Linked DNA regions of Homo sapiens: all the other regions are linked to region 3. The links are contacts of gene promoters, found by promoter capture Hi-C in blood cells and fetal thymus (Javierre and others, 2016). All regions are on one chromosome and are shown on one strand. Each heading gives the region's core, a stretch centred on a gene start or on the middle of the fragment in contact. The rest is flanking DNA. Distances are from core to core; before and after follow the strand shown.

Region 1 (4,457 bases), core at 1,240-3,739, 550 kb before region 3:
CCCCACCAATTTGTAATGTCACCTCTCTTGTTTGCTAGGCTCTGCATCCATATATATGTGGACCTGTCTAAGGGCCCTCTATTCTCTTCCACTGGTCTATTCCAGGAATTTTTTTTTTTAAGACGGAGTCTCGCTCTGTCGCCCAGGCTGGAGTGCAGTGGCGCGATCTCACCTTACTGCCAGCTCCACCTCCCGGGTTCACGCCATTCTCCTGCCTCAGCCTCCCGAGTAGTTGGGACTACAGGCGCCTGCCACCACGCCTGGCTAATTTTTTTGTACTTTTAGTAGAGACGGGGTTTCACCGTGTTAGCCAGGATGGTCTCGATCTCCTGCCCTCGTGATCCACCCTCCTCAGCCTCCCAAAGTGCTGGGATTACAGGTTTGAGCCACCGCGCCCGGCCTATTCCAGGATATTTTAAAGTAGAAATTTTCTTATGAAAACCTTCAGACACAAAGAGAGAATCATGTTATGAACCCCAGTGTACTCATCCAGATTCAAGTTAATAGGAATTTACCACACTAGGATCATTTTTGTTTTTGTAATGTATTTAAGGCATATTCTAGGTCTTAGGTCATTTCACCCCATATACTTCAGCCTGAATATGTATTATCAAACCATTAAAATAAAGCATTTTTAATATTGTCTAATGTCCCTGTCCATATTGAGTTCTCTGAATGTTTAAAAGTATCTTTTTATAGTTGGTTTGTTTAAATCAGGATCTGACATAGTCCTCACATTAAATTTGTTTTTTTTTTGTTTCCTAATTATTTTCAATTTAAAGCATTTGAGCAAATTCCTCCTCCACCAGTCTCTTTAGTTTTCCTGCAGTTGACCTCTTGAAGAAATCAACTAGGTCTTTAATATTCCACATTATGGATTTGTTTGTGCTCTTTTTTGGTGTTACTTAATTTGTTTTATCTCCGTATGTATTCTGTAAACTAAAAGTTAGCTTTAAAGGCTTGATTTGATTTAGGTTCAACTTCTTTGGGGTCAGGAGGCAAAGAATGCTTTGTAGGTAGTACTGATACTTCATATGGCATTACACTGGGAGGCACGTGATGTGTGGGTGTTTCACCCACTCATAGCAATGCTAACATTAAAATCTTGGGATTCACGTGATTTCAGCAGGATTCCTCCATAAGGAAGTTTTGATCTGACTTGCCATTCCTCCTGTGTTTATTAGCTGGAATTCTTTAAGGAACAACTTTGCCTCATCAGCCAGAGCTATTTTGGTTATCCTGAAGTACCATTGATACAAGAAAAGCAGTGTAAATAATTTGTTCTTTCCCTTTAATTTGTCAGTGTTCAGAGTGACAAGTTGGTGCCCTAGCTCATCCCAGTGGTGAGCAATAATGGTTTTTATTAATATCATTTTTGAAGATTTGAGTATCACTAGTCTAGATTTTTTAGATGTTTTCAATAAGAATGTTAATCTTTAGACTAGTCCATTACTACCCGAAACAGAAGCCTTTTCTCTTAACTATATATTGCTGTATTGTTTCATTTTAGACAGAGCATGTATGTTTTAATTCTAATGTAAATGAAAATGTTAACCACTTTTCTAATTCTCATTTTTTGATTAATGTGATTTTACAGTTCATGTGTTCATTGGTCATTTGTATTTTCTCCTTTTCATTTTTTTGTGTTTTTACTTTTTCTCTTTGTTGATCCTTGTCACCCTTTTGTTTCTTGTTGCAATTTCCCTCTAATTTTTTTTTTTCTTTGAGACGGAGTCTCATTCTGTTGCTCAGGCTGGAGTGCAGTGGTGTGATCTTGGCTCACTGCAACCTCCGCCTCCCCAGTTCAAGTGATTCTCCTGCCTTGGCCTCCTGAGTAGCTGGGATTACAGGTGTGCGCCACCACACCTGGCTAATTTTTGTATTTTTAGTAGAGACAGGGTTTCACCATGTTGGTCGGGCTGGTCTTGAACTCCTGACCTTGTGATCCGACGGCCTCAGCCTCCCAAAGTGCTGGGATGACAGGCATGAGCTACCATGCCTGGCCAGTTTCCCTCTAATTTATAATTTGCTTTAATTTTTAAAGTTATTCGTTTGAATGGACCTGTATGTCTTACAAAGCATGGCTGTTCTTCCCTCCGTGCTATAAAATGCTAACTTCTGTTTTCTTCTATTTTGTTTTTGCATACTTAAATATCTAGTCTATATGAACATGAGTTATGTTAAAGCTTTGTTCCAAATAAGTTGATAACTTGTACGTTAGTATGAAATACTATGTCTTTTGTCTGGGTGGGTCCTGCTGATGATGTTAAAATGCTTTTAAAACGTTCCACCTAATCACTAGTGTTCCTAGGTTGCTTATAGTAGCAGAAAAAATGACCTTGTTAAGTAAGTAATTTATATAGATTTATGCACTATTAATTATGCAAAGGCAAAATTTAGATATACTGAGTTTTGTATTTCCTAGATAAGTGTAGTGGTTACAGAATTATAATGTACTATCAATATTTTCATATTTTTATAAATTTGAATAATACATTTATTTCCTTTGTGTAATAAGTGATTTTATTTCTTATTTTGGATAGACACTTGGCATTTCACCTGAAGAAAAATTTGTTATTACAACAACAAGTAGGAAAGAAATTACCTGTGATAATTTTGGTAGGTAAACAGTGTTACTAAGTTGATGCTTTTATATTTAATAAGGTTTAGTACATATATAGCAATAACTTTTATTAGATATGCATCTAAATCTGTTGATGACTTTTGTTAATTTGTTGGGATGAGGGAGGAAACTGGCTGCATGTGCATAGTCTGCACAGAGGTTATATTTTTCAAGCTTGATTATAGAAAAATAGTTGATATCAGTTATGGCTACAGAAGATGATTCTGCCTAGCACAAATCTTCTGAAGCTAATTTTGCTAACCAACTTGGATTATTCCATTATCTTTTTTTAACCTAATTAGTTTTCCAAGACCTGCTGGTTTTTCATGCCTGATTCCATCTGAATTTAACCATTCTCCATTCATGTTGACACTACGCTATTTTAGATTCTCGTCTGATTTCCTGTGATAGTTTAACTTATTAAGAATTGAGTGTTTCAAATGAATGGAAGGAAGTATTTGTGCTTGTTTCATTAATATCCTTAACATGACTTTGCTTACAGGTAGATGATTGGGGGTTTTTCTTTACCATCATTAAAGATATTTCATAGATAGAATTTGTATATTCACAATTATAAGTTCATTGAGTTTCTGATGCTGACCTAGCACTTATGATTTTCACTCTTGATTACAGATGAAACTGTTAAAGATGGAGTCACCTTATACCTGCTACAGTCGGTCAATCAGTTACTACTGACAGCTACGAAAGAACGAATTGACTTCTTACCTCACTATGACACACTGGTTAAAAGTGGCATGTATGAATATTATGCCAGTGAAGGACAAAATCCTTTGCGTAAGTATCCCATTCATACTAATTTTGATAAATTATTACCTGCCTTTATCCCCTGATTACGTATCCCATTCCTTCACTTTTTGTAAATCTTCTTATTACACTTTATTAGAAGACCACTCATTTTCTTTCTTACTCAAATTCATCACGGTATTATTATGTCTTCTACCTGTGTCATCTTCAGTGAAAAAAAACTCTCCTTTAAAGCTAACCTACTAGTAGAACTTTTCTTTTCAACTCATAAGGGGTCTTGACCTATACAGCTTTCCATCGCCTGTATACTCTCTTCTCCTGATTTCCTAGCCTCCCATAGACCTTTCCCAATTAAGAAAATACTTGTTTTACTTTGCAAATACATATAGCTAGGTTGCGTAAGTAAGAAGTTTGTGTTCATATTTCCATGTCTTTATCATTTCTTTCTACCTTTACTACTTGCTAGTTTCTGTCCTTTCTCTGGACCATTTGCTAGTGATCTTTACAAATCAATTAGTTTACTGAATCCTCTCTTTCAGGACTTGCCAAAGTGTCTAATACTACTTACATGTTCATCGTAAACTTTTGTATTAAAATTATTTTTTTCTCATTATATGTGTATTTGCAGGAAATTAGAAAACATAGATAAGCAAATAGAACATAAAGAATATCTCTACTACCCAGACATAACCACCACTAACACTTTGGTGTTTATCATTTCAGACCTTTTCATATTATTTGATTTTTAATGGTTTTATATGGTGCATACTTCTTTAACCTACATTTTGTTTAAAAATAAAGTGAACATCTTTTAATATATATGTCTCTGTATATTTTGATAATATTTAGGTAATATAATTTATTTGAACAGTATTCTTTTTCTTTTTTTGTTTTTTGAGACAGAGTCTCTCTCTGTCACCCTGGCTGGAGTGCAGTGGTGTGATCTTGGCTCACTGCAACCTCTGCCTCCTAAGTTCAAGTGATTCTCCTGCCTCTGCCTCCCGAGTAGTTGGGATTACAGGCAGGCACCACCACGCCTGGCTAATTTTTGTATTTTTAGTAGAGACGG
Region 2 (4,795 bases), core at 2,200-4,699, 530 kb before region 3:
ACTTGTGTGGGGAGGCATTTTCTGTGTGTTATTTTGTGTCGACAGTTTGTGTATGTTGTGTGGGGATGTGATTGTAGATGTTGGGAGGGTATTGTGAGGGGATACTTTTTTGGGTGCTTTTGTTGTTTTGTATCTCTGGTATTACAGTGTCCTACCTGGTCAATGTTGTCTTTATTTTGATTATTTATATATGAGGATAGGACTTTTTATACCAATTAAAATGTTTTTGTTTATCCCATTCTTTCTGTTTCTGTTTCTTCTGTTTTCTCTTAAATTTATTGTCTTCTGCTGTTTTGTTTTCTTGCTCCATCTTTTTCTTTTTAATATTTTAGACTTTATATCTTCTCTGATCTTCTTTGAAGTTTTAACATGCATATTTAACTTTAGATTTCAGGATTTAAAATATTTTCCTTCCCCCAACTTAAGGACTTCATTAGCTTTGGTCACTCCCTTCCTGAAATGACACTTTTGTTATTGAAGGTATTTAAAGTGTGACTTTTTAGAAATTCAACAATATGCACACACCAGTTTTTCACCACACCAGTAAATGTCTCATATGTAGTCCTTAAAAAAATTACTTTTGTATGTGTTGTATTATGGTGACCTCTTGTATGTTAGATTGTGCTTGTAGGAACATTTCTTTAGAACAAGTCTTCTGGTGGTAAATTACTTTGGTTTTTATCTATAAATTGTTTATTTTTCTCTAGTTGACAATTTTAGGTTAACAGATTTTTTTCAGGCACTATAGAGATAATATTCCTCTCTGTCTTTTACTGTTGCTGTCAAAGCCTGCTCATCTGTTTTGTCCTGTCTTATCTCTTAGTCTATTTTCTAGTTCTTCTGTTTGGTTTTTGGTGTTTACAGTGATGTTGATTTCTTTTTATGTATCTTGTTTGGGCTCTTTTGGTTTTCCTGGATCTGTGAAGCCATGTCTTTTATTGGTTCAAGAATATTTACAGCTATTTTCCATTCTCTGTCCCTTCTCTTTCTAGAGCTGCATTTAATCTTGTGCCAGATATTTTCCTTTGGTCATTTATGTCTTTTAACGCCACTTTGATATTTTCAGTTTTCTTTTCTTTCTTTGTTTCCTGTGGTTACGTTCTTTGCATCTTTCTGTTCTCTAATTCTCTCCAGCTATGTCACACCTGCTCTTTAATCTTTCCATTGAGTTTAATAGTGGTTCCAGCCTCACCTTCATTCTGTTTATTTCTGATAATGGGGGATGATGTCCCCGGAGACTTTGCCTACATTTTGAAAGACCAGTGATGCCTCTTCTTCAGAATATTGTTATGGTGCACTGTTCCCTCAGAGCTCTTCATTTATCATGATATATGGAAGTGAGACTCTCCTTTGCTCTAATTACCATTATTCTTCAGACAATATTTTAGCAAGTTTTGAAGTAGCAAACAGTTTTGAAGGAAAGTTTTAGAGGCATGAGGATAATAAAAATACTTATTTAGTCCTGTTTGCTGAGAGATTTTCTGATTTAGTAGGATTGAGCCCAAGAGTTTGCATTTCTTAAAAGTTTTCAGCTAAAGCTGATGCATCTGGCCTGGGGACTACACTTTGAGATGCACTGGAGTAGATGTCTTGACACTGATTATTTCACCTTTCAGTTAGGGGTGTTTGCAGGCGTGATCATTTTATTAACACTGAATACAAGTGCAATGAAAGTTTCTTTTGACACTTAACTAGCTTGTTTAAAATCACTGCATTAATGTTTTATTTTAGTGATCATTCAGGATATGTTCGTCCAGTACCAGTGCCACGCAGTTTAAATAGTGATATTTCCTATTTTGGTGTTGGGGGCAAGCAAGCTGTCTTCTTTGTTGGACAATCAGCCAGAGTAAGTAAAAAGATTTCTTATAAATGAAAGTTGATCAAAATATTTTGAAGTTGACTCTGTCTAAATGCATTAACCAGTTTATTAGGAATTTAAAAAGTACTCTTTTTAATATTTAACAGATGATAAGCAAACCTGCAGATTCCCAAGATGTTCACGAGCTTGTGCTTTCTAAAGAAGATTTTGAGAAGAAGGAGAAAAATAAAGAGGCAATATATAGTGGATATATTAGAAACAGAAAGGTACAATACATTTTAACTCATAATTATAAATTTACTCCTTTGGATAGACGGTGGGACAGAACTTAACTTGAAAGTATGAAATTTTCAAAATGAGTTACCCTTTCCTTTAGTCATAATAACAAAAATGGGCTTTCTCAAGCCAAAAATCTTCAGACAAGTTGTCTCATAAAGCTTACTAAGCTTTCTGTAAATTGCTTGTAGGATTGTAAGCTTTTTTCCCTGGTCTGAATTTGGGTTTTAAAATCTTTGTTGTATAATAAAATTATAGAGTAGAAAAACAGTAACAGGGTAATGGACTTTCAGGAAATTGGACCTCTAGAGAAATAAATGAGAGATTGCTCTTACAAGTTTGCATTGAAATTCTTGTGTTCATAAGACAAAATGTTAACAAATTTGAATCTTGGTGGCAAGTAAATGGTATATTTATTGTATATTCCTTCAACTCTTCTTTGTTTGAAACATGATTTTTTTTCTTTTTTTTTTTTTTTGAGATGGAGTCTCACTCTGTCTCCTGGGCTGGAGTGCAGTGGCGCAACCTCAGCTCGCTGCAACCTCCACCTCCCAGGTTCAAGATATTCTCCTGCCTCAGCCTCTCGAGTAGCTGGGATTACAGGTGCCTGCCACCATGCCCTGCTAATTTTTTTTGTAGTTTTGGTAGAGACAGTGTTTCACCATGTTGGCCAGGCTGGTTTTGAACTCCTGACCTCAAGTGATCCGCCTGCCTCAACCTCCCAAAGTGCTAGGATTACAGACGTGAGCCACCGCGCCCAGCCTGAAACATGATTTTTAATCTAAAATCTTTAATATATAAGTTAGTTTACTTACTATTTTAAGAGATGGGGTCTCACTCTGTCCCTCTGGACTAGAGTGTAGTGGTGCTATCACAGTTCACAGCAGCCTCGAACTCCTGGACTCAGGCAGTCTTCCAACCTTGGCCTCCCAAAGTGTTGGGATTACGGGAAAATATTTATTTTAAAGTGATTTTGGGCTGGGCATGGTGGCTCAGTCCTGTAATACCAGTACTTTGGGAAGCTGAGGTGGGAGGATTGCTTGAACTCAGGAGTTTAAGACCAGCCTCTGTAACATAGGAGACCTTGTCTCTACTAAAAAAAAAAAAAAAAAAAAAAAAAGCCGGGTGTGGTGGTGTGCGCCTGTAGTCCCAGCAGCTCAGCAGGCTGAGGTGGGAGGATCACTTGAGCCCAGCTGCAAGTGAGCTATGATCATGCCACTACATTCCAATTTGGGCGATAGAGCAAGACTGTCTCAAAAACAATAAAAAATTTTTAAAAGGTAATTTTGAACTTTTAAAAATTTGGCTTTCTGATTCTAAAACAACTTGTAGGAAACTTTATAGAAAAGCCTAAGGAAGATAAAAATACTCCCAAGTCCTAGAGAAGCCTACTGAAACATTTTGGTGAATTTCCTTCTAATTCAGCTTTTTAAAATATATACTTAATAGTTTTGATCCCACATTTAAAAAATTAACATGTTGAGTATTTCCCCATTATAAAATATTTTGATACACAATGGTTTTTAGTAGCTTTATAACATTTCCTTCAATGAATGTAACATAATTTCATGATTCTGTTGAGCATTTGGCTTATTTAAAGGATTTTACAGTAATTGTAAAGACATTGCGATGAGTATCTTTGCATAACATCTTACCTGAATTACAGATTTTTTTCTTAGGTTAGATTGTTATAATTTTAATAGCTGTGGTAATGAATTTGAACTTTTTTTTTGAGACAGAGTCTCACTCTCTTGCCCAGGCTGGAGTGCAGTGGCATGATCTCAGCTCACTGCAACCTCTGCCTCCCTGGTTGAAGCAATTCCCCTGCTTCAGCCTCCTGAGTAGCTGGGATTACAGGCACATGCCACCACACCTGGCTAATTTTTTTCTTTTTTTTTTTTTTTTTAGTGGAGATGGAGTTTCACCATGTTGGCCAGACTGGTCTCAAACTCCTGACCTCAGGCAGTCCGCCCACCTCGGCCTCCCAAAGTGCTAGGATTACAGGTGTGAGCCACCACGCCCAGCCTGAATTTGAACTTTTTAAATGTTCATGGCATGTATTTCAAAACTGCTTGTCAGAAAGGTTAAACCCAAAGTCACATACACTTCCAACAACTGTATGGAAGCACATTTCTGATCATTTATTTTTCAAAAGAATGAGAAGGGGAGAGGGCAGCAAAATGTTGGCCATTTGATAATTGAAAAAAAAAAAAAAAACCTTTTCTTTCATTAGTTGATGGGTTGGATTTTTTTTTTCCATTTTATTATCCACTTTTATTTTCTCGATAACTTAATATACCCTTTGTGCAGGACATTACTTTCTTTTCTTTGTTTCATTTACTTAACAAATTGCATATTTTGATATTTTTACATAACAGTATTCCATCTTGTCTTAACCACCACAGAGCCCTATAAAATATAATGGTGGAAATATTACTTGCCATGATAAAACTGGTGAAAAATAGGAATTGAGAATTTAGGTGGTTTTCAAAACTGTGTGCATATTACAAAGCTTGTATACAACTGTGTCTCTTGGAGCACCATTTTTCTGCCAGCCTTTTCTGTGTTTTGTGCTTAGTTCTTCCCAACAAACATTTCTTGGGTACCAACAAGTACCTGGTCTGTTTCCTTTTCTGACTAGTCTTTTCCAGCCTATTTTTGTTGGACTTCTATCTCTGATCTGTGAGCAGTTTTCAGAAT
Region 3 (4,525 bases), core at 1,807-4,306:
ATAGGGTCCTTAAAGAGGAAGTTGAGTTAAAATTAGGCCATTAGGATGGGCCGTAATTCTATATGATGGTGTCTCTATAGGAAAAGAAAACCAAGATCCAAATATGTATATAACAGAGGGAAGGCCACGTGGAGACACAGGGAGAAGACAGCCATCCATGAGCCGAGAAGAGACCTGAGAAGAAACCACCCAGCTGACACCTTGATCTTGGACTTCCAGCCTCCAGAGTTGTAAGGTAATAAGTTTCTGTTGTTTAAGCCACCCAGTCCATGGCGCTTAGCTATGATAGCCCGGGCAAAAGAATACAAAGTCCACTGCAATGGTCCAGGCTAGAGGTGACAGGGGTAGCAGCGAAAGTGTGAGAGGTGGTCAAGCTCTGCACAGCTTTTGAAGTTAGAACCAATGGCATTTGCTGAAAGTTCTGAATTAGGATGTGAAAGAAAGAGATGACTCCAAGGTTTTTGCCTGAGCAATTGAAAGACAAGTTGCTATTAACTGAGATGGGGAGGAATGTGGGAAAGTATCAGTTTGGGGTGGAAGAACAGGAGATTGGTTTCAATGCTCTACATCTGAGATGCCTGTTAGACCTCCCAGAGGAGACATTTTAAGTGGGAAGCTGGATACATGACTCTGGAGTGCAGGAGAGAGGTCCAGGATGCAGATATACATTTGGGAGTCAACAGCATATAGGTGGTATCGAAAGCCAAGAAAATAGGTGAGAACCATTGTACACGGAAAAGAAAGTCCTAAAAGAAAACAGATGAGGACCATTATACACAGAAAAGGAAATTACAGGCATGGTGGCTCATGCTTGTAATTCCAGCACTTTGAGAGGCCAAGGCAGGAGGATTTCCTGAGCCCAGGAGTTTGAGACCAGCCTGGGCAACGTGGTGAGACCTTGTCTCTATTATAAAAATTTAAGATAAAATAAAATAAGTAAAATAAAGTCCTAGAACTGAACCCTGGAGTATGCTAATCTTATATATAAGCTCTCTCAAATCTCACAAACATTTCAAGCAAAGGTATAGTCTCAAACCAGAAAACAAAACAAAACAAACAAAAAAACCTGTTTGCTCTATAAGGAACATGCAGGCTTCTAGTCTCCCTACTTAAAGAGGTAAGAGAGTCGATTCCCAGGGTGACAGCTGGCATTGTGAACTTGAGCTAGCAGTTCTACTAAAAGTCAAAGGTATGTTTGTTTAGCATAGGGTGGGGAGATGTCACATGGCCTTAGCATTCTTGAATAGTTTATCCACTGAAGCAGGCCTATCAGCCACGTTGACAACCCTGGATGAAGTAATAGTTTTATAAAAGCTCCACCCCCAAGTGTTTTAATGCTGTAGAATTAGTTTTAAAGTGATCTGTTTTCTCCAAATGTCATTTTTAAAAAAATTCAAAATGAAGAATGAATCCTTCTAAACTCAGCATATTCTTTGTCAAGTTTAAAACTACTTTTTATTTAAACTATTTTAAAAGTCAGCATGTATTCCCCAGAGAAGAAAACTGAGCAAACTTCACTCCAGAAATATTTATCTTAGGGTTCATGGAAGATATCAGTCTACAGGGCATTTCCTAAGGGAAAAAAATAGCTACTAGCAAGCAACTTTGCTTCAACCCTTAAATAGATGGCTATTTTCTGTTACAAAATATGGAGGATAATTACCATGTATAATTAATAACTACTAGATGAATTTTGATAAAACAAAGGGGTTAGAAAATGTTAATACAGAATTACGTTAGGCAGTTATAAAGATATTAGAGAAGTTTCTGTTATGATACTACATTGTAACATGGCACATGTTATTTGAATGATTTTTCAAATAAATAATAAAGAAACTTGTTATGTTATAAACTAAATTCATTCCCCAGATGACTTGAAATGCTGTTATTTTCACAAAATAAAATCTTTAAATATCTTGCCCCAATACTATTTTTTACTCTCTTTATTTCTATTTCTCCCAAATACATTTATTTTTAATAATACTTACTATTCCTCTCACATAGATAGTAAGTTACAAGTAAACAGGGTTTGACTTGAAGCCCACATTGCTGATTGTCACAGCCCTGACCTCTGGAACAAAGGTACAACCACCTCCTCTTCATCAAGTAAGCCCTTGAAGTTAACTAAAGCCAGGATTAGCTCCAACACATGACGGCTGGAGTACGTTGGGAGGAAAGATGGTTTTAGTGTCTTTTGTTTCTTTAAGACCTAAATTTTCTTTCTGAAAATAATTTGAGAATTTAGGAAGAAATACAAATTCCATAGCTGTAATTTATGATACTTTTGTGCAGGCATTAGAGGGCAGAAGCTGATGAAAACGATTCCCAGAAAAATCACTATGTGGGGCTCTATGTTGCCTCTGAAATATTACTTAACCATTTGAGGCCATATCATTGTGCGCGCTCACATTTATCCACATTGCATCGTCACAGCAAGATCCCTGAATTATAAACTAGTGACTTCAGAGTTAATTTTCCTTCTTTCGGTCTAATTTGTAACCAGGGAGCATTGTATGGCACATGCAGGATTGAAAATGCAGGGCCTCCTGTCTCTCATCCATTTCAGATTTCAACCAAACCGTACTTGGAAATAGCATTAAACACACGCTTACAGTTCAATCCGAGGCAGATATGACCTCCTTACAGTTCCAGGAACAGCAGCTTAATTTCAGAAGAATACAGTGATGTGAGAGAAGAGCTGTGCCAGCCCGACTGGCACCCGGCTGTTCTGGTTTCCCTCCCTGGAGCTTCACTTTCCTATTTCTCTGTTATTCTGACATCTCTTTGAGAAAACTGCTGAGTTCAGAAGACAGAAAGAAAGCACTTACACTGCACTGCTGCTAAGCTCATAAGCTATCAAGTGCATTCTTCTGCCTCAGTGTCACACTTACCAGTTTCCAAAGGAGTAATGGTGGTGGAAATGTTCCGATGAGGCCGAGGAGCTGGATGAGAGAATGAAGACTCCACCTAGGTTGAATCCAAGACAATGTTAAGAGGCAGGGCTAAAGACAGGACCCTGGGGGCCAGTTCAAAAATAATGCATGTGGTCAGGCAGTCGAATGTCAGGCCACACAACCAGCCTTTTATGGCCAAGAAGGCAGATAAATATAGCAGCAGATGGGGAGGGTAGTTCCAAACCAGGAGGAGGAGAGGGGCATGGGCAGGTAGCAGCCTTAGTAATATAATTGCATAATGCCGGTCAATGGGTCTGGCCCGATTAAACCAAATATAGGGTTTTTATTTGGCAACAAGAGTTATTTTCAATGTCACTTTATCAGTAGATAATTTAAAAGTGTAATGGAAAGAGTGGTTTGTGTTAACAGCTAAAAATAGGTGTAGTAATATGATTCTCAAAATGGACTTCGTGGAATTTTAATGCCAAGATATGATTCTGAGTGTGCTGTTAACAACACACGTACGGTACATTTAAAAGATACAATGTGAAAAAAGAACTTGAAGCTAACTAAAGGCAAAACAAGGAAGAAATGGGTTACACGTGGTGGCGATTTTTGCCTGACATCACGGTCACTATTTCTCTCACTTCAGGAAAATTTACAAGGTTAAGTCTTAGCTTCAAGCCTGAATATGTGATTTCCTGTTCATTAACTAAAGCCTTTTGAGACGCAACTCAGTGTTTTATCTTTCCTAACTCAGAGTAGGGTCAGTCCATCTAATAAGAGATTCTCTTTCTTTGTTCTTTAAATGGTGTGACCAATTAAGAGGAGGTGTAACCCGGTTGTGAGAGCCTGTGTTGTGGATTCAGACCAGATCTAGATCCCACTATATTGATAGCACTTAGTAGCCATGTAATCTCCAGCAATTTATTTCTCCTTCCTAAGCTTCAGGTTTTTTGTCTATAAAATGGGGATAATCATATCCAAATTATAGGATTGCTGTGGTGATTAAATGTGATACTGCAGACAGAGCACTTGACCTAGTGACAGTCACATAATATAGACTCAGTAAATATCAGCTGTTATTACTGATACCAATAATATAAAAGCTCATTGTTAGATTACATGTATGCAGCAGGTTGGTATTTTGATCTACTGGCCTTATGTTCTGACAGTGATATTACATCAACTGAATAAAGGTCACCTGTGTCTATCAAAATTGTTTTTCTTTCTGAGACAGGGTCTCACTCTGTTGCCCAGGCTGGAGTGCAGTGGTGCAGTCTTGGCTCACTGCAACCTCTGCCTCCCAGGCTCAAGCAATCCTCCCACCTCAGCCTCCCGAGTAGCTACAGGCGCATGCCATCACACTCGGCTAATTTTTTTTTTTAACTCTTGGTAGAAATGGAGTTTCACCATGTTGCCCAGGCTGGTCTCAAACTCCTGGACTCGAGTAATCCACCTGCCTCAGTCTCACAAAGTGCTGGAATTACAGGCGTGAGCCACTGCACCCAGTCTCTATCAAGATATTGAACAGACTCAATATTATAGTATACTTCATCATGACTTTCTTGATGATAACTACAGTTAACACTGTTGAGGACCTATCCAGTGCCAGACACTGGGATAGGCAG

The links. The method cuts DNA at HindIII sites, captures the fragments that hold promoters and counts their contacts. A CHiCAGO score of 5 or more calls a contact.
Region 1: a fragment that was not itself captured here is called in contact with the fragment with the promoter of MYOM1 in region 3 in 1 of 17 cell types (megakaryocytes); the score reaches 6.7 in megakaryocytes.
Region 2: a contact is called between a fragment that was not itself captured here and the fragment with the promoter of MYOM1 in region 3, in 2 of 17 cell types (megakaryocytes and non-activated CD4 T cells). The highest score is 5.7, in megakaryocytes.

Annotation. Positions count from the first base shown.
Region 1 is chr18:2,663,614-2,668,070 of GRCh38, forward strand. SMCHD1 (structural maintenance of chromosomes flexible hinge domain containing 1) reads left to right here. Exons shown (of 48, transcript NM_015295.3): 2 at 2,544-2,619; 3 at 3,257-3,418. Among named protein-coding and RNA genes, the nearest start is that of SMCHD1, 10 kb to the left of the region's middle. The HindIII fragment of the contact is 611 bases long and covers 2,185-2,795 here.
Region 2 is chr18:2,686,663-2,691,457 of GRCh38, forward strand. It overlaps SMCHD1 (structural maintenance of chromosomes flexible hinge domain containing 1), which reads left to right. Exons shown (of 48, transcript NM_015295.3): 6 at 1,732-1,846; 7 at 1,966-2,085. Among named protein-coding and RNA genes, the nearest start is that of SMCHD1, 33 kb to the left of the region's middle. The HindIII fragment of the contact is 2,312 bases long and covers 2,294-4,605 here.
Region 3 is chr18:3,216,912-3,221,436 of GRCh38, forward strand. MYOM1 (myomesin 1) reads right to left here and starts at 3,057. Exons shown (of 38, transcript NM_003803.4): 1 at 2,892-3,057. RefSeq lists a silencer at 1,060-1,354. The HindIII fragment of the contact is 10,525 bases long and covers 1-3,837 here.